2 separate regions of the Homo sapiens genome follow, and region 1 is linked to region 2. The links are contacts of gene promoters, found by promoter capture Hi-C in human tissues and cell types (Jung and others, 2019). All regions are on one chromosome and are shown on one strand. The core of a region is centred on a gene start or on the middle of the fragment in contact, and the rest is flanking DNA. Distances in the headings are between cores, read along the strand shown.

Region 1 (2,859 bases), core at 59-2,558, 290 kb before region 2:
GGCTCGGCAGGTCTGAGCAGAGGCTGCAGAGAGCCAGCAGAGGAAACTGACAGGGCCTCATCACCAAAGGCCTCCAAGGCCAGTTGAGGGAGTCAGGACTTGGTCTTACAGACAGGTGAGAGACACTGAAGATTTTAATTTTTTTGTTAAGAGGTAAGGTCTCACTATGTGGCCCAGGCTGGAGTGCAGTGGCACAATCATTGCTCACTGCAGCTTCAAACTCCTGGGCTCAAGTGATCCTCCCACCTCAGCCTCCCCAGTAGCTGGGACTACAGGCACAAGCCACCATGCCCAGTGGCACTGCAGACTTTATAATGGGGGCTTGATGTGGTCAGCTTTGCATCTTAGAAAACTACAGTGTGGATGGAGTGAGGAGGGAGACAGGGACCTTCCAGAGAAGAAAGCTATGACTTAAAAATCCTAGAGGCCAGTGCTTAGACCAAGGCAGTGGAGTCAGGAGGTAGACAGCAGGGGACAGCTCTGCTCTTTTCCGAGTTTGAGTGACAAGGGTCAATCGTGAAGGAAAAGGAAGTGTCAGGGATGATTTCAAAGTGGACAGTGAGGCCTGGGTGGGTGATGCTGCCTCTTGATGAGAGAGGGGACAAGGGGAGAAGGAGCAGGTGGAAGAGAGAGGGAGGGAGGTCATAAGGTCAAATCTGGTCACACTGGGACCTGACTTCGATATAGTATCACCCCCCTAGACCCCTGCCCTAGCAAGCTTCATGGTAAACCCTGGTGATGCTGAGTCAATGCCAGATTTATCATCCACACACCCTCCAAATCTACATGTGGTCACTGAACTTGTGATAGCTGCCACACTCAAACAGAAAGATCTCACCCTGCACCTACAGCAGGCTTAGCTTGGCCCTCGCTGCTTGGGGTTGCACCCCCTTTCCATCTAAGTGCAAGTGTGGAAAGTGGATGCCATGTCCCTAGTGTGGATAGATTTTTCAGGTATTGAATGGCAATGCCACTGAGCAGGTTGGTTGTGCAGAGCCTACCCTAGAAATGGATCATTTAGAAAGGTTCTGTGTCCTGGCCAGGGTGCCAGGTGTGCAGGGGTCAGGGATACCTGGGGGATGGCTAATGGGGCACTGCCTTGGCTCACCACTGACCCCTCTCCAGGGAGTCCAGGGACTCTGCCTGGCTTTGGAAAAGACCTTGGCTTAGGAGAAATGGAAATGTCAGGGAGCAATGGTTTCTAAGGTCCAGGGCTGGAGGTCTGGGAGTGCCCAGCTTTGTGGGGGATTCCTGGTTGGAAGTACTGCAACTAAACAACTTCCTTTGCAGCTTCCTCCACTGTTTCAGGCTCTGTTCTGGGCTTTCCACTGCCTGGGCTTATTCAACCCTCACACAAGTGGATCAGAGAGGAGAAGCAACTGGCCAGTGTCACACAGCCAGTACGTGGTCAACCAGCTTCCTGCCGACCGCCAAGCCAGTGCCACATCTTGTCTCTGTGTGAAGTTGGAAAAGATAGAACATTTTTAAAAAGTATGAGATTCATACCTGAGTTGCCAAATTAAATGTTTTTAAGACAAAGGTTGATGGGAACAGTCTCTCTCTCTCTCTCTCTGTCTCTCTCTCTCTCTTTCTTTCTCTCTCTCTCTCTCTCCCCCCCTCCCCCTCTCCCTCTCCCTCTCTCTCTCTCTCTCTCTCTCTCTGTGTGTGTGTGTGTGTGTGTGTGTGTGTGTGTTTAGACTCCGTCATTACACTTACGTTTACTGTGCACCTACTATGTGCCAGGCCCTGGGGATACAGCAGTGACTGAGGGAGACTTAGGGAGGAATGGATAGGAGTATGGGGAAAGGTCTTATACATAAGCAGGTGTGTAAAACACACATACACACAGACACACACATTAGTGCTCCAAACCGTTGTAAAAGTAGACACATTTACCTGGCACAGACACACAGATACACATCTCCAAAACTCCCCTGCATGCACATGTGTACCTCCGCTGCACACACGTCCACCCACAGGATTCAGACTGACTTCCAGAGTTAACTAAGTAAGGGAACTGGACCTCCAACCCAATATACAAGCCAGGAGGATTGGAAGTCTTGCACTCCCTACTTCACCAAAGACTAGCAAAGGACCTTAATCCTGGCTTTTAACTCCACCCCCCTGGTCAGGGGCTGAGATCTTGGGGTTAGATGGTGCGGACTACAGCTTTGCCCAAGGACTCTGCTAAGAGTCATTGCCACCATCTATTAAACACAAGCCAGGCTCTTGACATGCATTGCCTCCTCTCACATACACTCTGGCCGTGGAGTATATGGGTACAGTACTACCCTCATTTTATAGATGAGAAAACTGAGGCTCAGAGAGCTGCGTTATCTCACCGGGGGTCTCATGCAGATCACAAGCGGCAGAGCCCAGATTGAACACTGAACTCCTCCACTGGAAACAGCAACCCGAGTCCTTAGGTTGTTTTTTTGTTTTTGTTTTTGTTTTTAGAGATTAAAGTCTTGCTCTGCACCCAGGCTGGAGTGCGGTGGTACAATCGTAGCTCGCTGCAGCCTTGAACTTCTGGACTCAAGCAAACCTCCCATCTCAGCCTCCAGAGTAGCTGAGACCACAGGTGCATACCACCACAGCCAACTGATTTTAAAAAAAAATGTAGAGGGCTGGGCATGGTGGCTCACGCCTGTAATCACAGCACTTTGGGAGGCTGAGGCAGGCAGATCACTTGAGGTCAGGAGTTCAAGACCAGCCTGGCCAACATGGCGAAACCTCATCTCTACTAAAAATACAAAAATTAGCTAGGCATGGTGATGCATGCCTGTAGTCCCAGCTACTCAGGAGGCTGAGGCAGGAGAATCACTTGAACCCGGGAGGCGGAGGTTGCAGTGAGCCGAT
Region 2 (3,113 bases), core at 53-2,552:
CTCCAAAGCTCCTTGACAGTTTGGGTCTATCACATTCTCTGAGCCTTAACATCTTCCTTCAAGCAGTGACCATCTCCAGCTAGGGTCCTTACTCCCAGTTTCAGCAGAGGAAACTGAAGGACTGTGACTTGCCCAAGGGGAGCCAAGGCCTCCCCCAGCTCATCTGCCTCCTTAATGTCACAAGGGGCCCAGGGCTAGACCATATGTGGCTGAGGCGGGGAGCCCAGGCTCTGTCCTCCAGTGTGGCATTCTCACTGCGCTTGTGGGGAGCCTTCAGCTGCCCTACCTTGTGAAGCCAGAGACCTGGGGTTGGGGACCCTGAGGATTAGGTCTGGGGCTCTAGCTGCAGGAGCCTGGCTGAGATCCTTCATTGCCTAGGGGGGTCTCCTTGATGGGACTTACTCAGGACCCCAGGGGATCGGTTTGGAAGGGGCAGTCCTATATAGGGGTTAGGGATGGCAGGGCCAGAGGTCCCAGCCTCTGGCGAGGGGCATTCCCTGGCCTCCTCTGCCCTGGTCCCAGTCCTTGGGTACTGAGAGGGAGACTACAACAAGGAAGCACTAGGACAGTCTACTTACTCCTAAGATGTCACTCATCCTACAACATTCATCATAAGACCAGTCGCACCCAGAGCCGTAGTGAGGCGGGTGAAGCTGCAGATAGATAGATGATAGATAGATAGATAGATAGATAGATAGATAGATAGATAGATAGATAGATTTTTTTCTTTTTTACAAGAGTGTCTCTCTGTTGCCCAGGCTGGAGTGCAATGGTGCAGTCACGGCTCACTGTAACCTCCACCTCCCGGGTTCCAGCGATTCTCCTGCCTCAGCCTGTAGCTGGGACTACAGGCGCGCGCCACTATGCCCGGCTAATTTTTGTATTTTTGGTAGAGACGGGGTTTCACCATGTTGGCCAGGCTGGTCTCGAACTCCTGACCTCAGGTGATCCACCCCCCAGCTCAGCCTCCCAAAGTTCTGGGATTACAGGCATGAGCCACCGCGCCCGGCCGATAGTTATATTAATCCTTTCTTTCATTTATGGATCTCAGGAAAAGGGCAGACTTGGTCGGGAGAGTAGACCCACCAGAGCTTCAGATTCCAAAGCCCTCCGGGTCAGGGTAACTGCGGCAACCAGAGCCCCAGCCCTCTGGTCTCGCACGTCACTGGAGGATAGGGGCTGGGCCACGGGAGGGCGGGGCGCGCCCTCTGGAAGGCGCGGAACTGCTGTGCGAGCCGAGCGCGTTGCTGCCCGGAGGCTCCTACGCCACGGCCCGTCGGGCCCGGCGCCGGAAGTGAGCTGTTCCGAGGCGCCGCCGGGAGCTGCCACGTCCGAGACCTGGAGCAGCCACCGCCGCAATCATGGTGAGTGTTGGTACTGAGGAGGCCTAGCAGGGTGAAGGCCACGGTCGCGGCCTTCACGGGTTCCTCGGCCGTCCTGAGTCCCAAATCCCAAGCTGGAGCCGTTCAGCTCCCCTCCACCGCTTAGAGATTTGGGGGGCTCTGGCCCCGTCCTTGCGGACCATTCCGAGGGGAGTCCAGAGGTGAGGCCGAGGAACCTCCCTGACTTTGCGGGGCGCGCCGCTCCTGCGTCTCCTGCCAGTCTCCCTTCCTTCTTTTCGGTCAACAATTGAAAACAAAACGAGGAACAGCAGAGGAGCTACTGTATACCGAGCCCTCAGCATTGTTCGTAATCTCCGCCTGCTAACAGCCTTGTGAAGAAGGTGCTATTCTTCTCAACACTTTACAGATGAGGACACTTGAGGTTCGGAGACGTGGAGCCTCTTGCACAGCTGCTTAAGTGGTAGTAGAGCCGAGATTTGAACCCTCCTAACCATTCCTTTCTGCCGCCTACTGCAGCTCCCAGCAGAGATGATTGAACTGTTGCTCGGGGTAGGGCCCCCAGGTAGGATGGGCACCTCGGGAAACGTAAAGATGGCCTGAACGACCCTCCGAAGGCAGGGGCTCAGGGTTTTTTAAGTCTCTGTGGCATCTGCAGTGTACATTCACTCCACACTTACTCCTTGAGTGAATGAATGACTGAAGGAGAACTAAAGAATGGAAGTATCTGGGCTGAGCCTGGAATATCTAGTACATGCATTCTTTTAGAAACATGGGTGTGTCTCAGCAGCAGGTTTGAGGGAACCTGCAGGAACCTAGAAATCAGAACACTGTGTTCTTGTTCTGCAGAGGGTTAGGTGTAAATCACTCACCTCTGGCTCTTCCACTGCAGGTTAGAGTTGAGGCTTTTATGCTCTGACATTCAGCTCATCCTAAATGAATTTTTAACTCATTATCTGATCTCAAAGAGGTGAATTATTTTGAGTGCAGGTGTTAACAGGGACCAGATAATACCAGGTCCCTGGGAAGAAGTACTCTAAGAAGTTCTCTCTCTCTCTCTCTCTCTCCCCACCCTCCCTCTCTCCCCACTCCCTCTCCCTCCCCCCTTCCTCTCCCTCTCCCTTTCTCTCTCTCCCCCTCCCTCTCTTCTCTCTCTCTCTCCCCGCTCCCTCTTCCTCCCCCCTTCCTCTCCCTCTCCCTTTCTCTCCCGCCCTTCCTCCTTCCTTCCGTCCTTTTCTCTCCCCCTCCCTCTTTCCTCCCCCCCCCCCCCCCCCGCCTTCTCTCTCTCTCTCTCTCTCTCTCTCTCTCTCTCATTCAGAAGTGTGGTTCATCAACCCTGACTGGTGGGTGAGAGTGGTTAGAATTAAATGCTGATTATTTCTAAGGTCCTTTGGTAACCTGGTTGAAACTACCTCTCAGTAAACTTTCTTCGTGAACCTACTTAACCGCAGCTTTACAGAACTCAGTGTAACAACTGCTTTACATTCTAGACAGGCAGCCTGGTGGAGTGAAGTTTTGTGGACTCAGCATTAGAAGGTTAGGGGATGGGGCTCTTTTCCCAGGTCTGCCTTGAACTAGCTCTGTGACTTTGGCAAGTGCTTTCTCTTCTCTGGGCTTCTTCATTTCCTTAGTCTGTCGCAGGTCTCTGATTGACTGTGCCCTTGGTACCCTGCCCTCCCCGCCTTCCTGTGCACTTTGTAACCTATACAGCTCGGCACATGGAGGAAACTCCTTATTGTCCTTACTTGCCTTTGCAGACTTCGGGGACCTGGT

What was found. The method cuts DNA at HindIII sites, captures the fragments that hold promoters and counts their contacts. A contact is called where the count stands out against the background at its distance.
Region 1: a fragment that was not itself captured here is called in contact with the fragment with the promoter of SEC13 in region 2 in 2 of the 25 tissues and cell types used here (H1 embryonic stem cells and IMR-90 fibroblasts).

What each region holds. Positions count from the first base shown.
Region 1 is chr3:10,605,715-10,608,573 of GRCh38, reverse strand. It overlaps a transcript of ATP2B2 not described here. Among named protein-coding and RNA genes, the nearest start is that of ATP2B2-IT2, 20 kb to the left of the region's middle. The HindIII fragment of the contact is 7,268 bases long and covers 1-2,859 here.
Region 2 is chr3:10,319,301-10,322,413 of GRCh38, reverse strand. It overlaps SEC13 (SEC13 homolog, nuclear pore and COPII component), which reads left to right and starts at 1,302. Exons shown (of 9, transcript NM_183352.3): 1 at 1,302-1,364. The coding sequence starts at 1,362. RefSeq lists a silencer at 1,067-1,146 and enhancers at 994-1,589, 1,337-1,636. The HindIII fragment of the contact is 24,307 bases long and covers 1-3,113 here.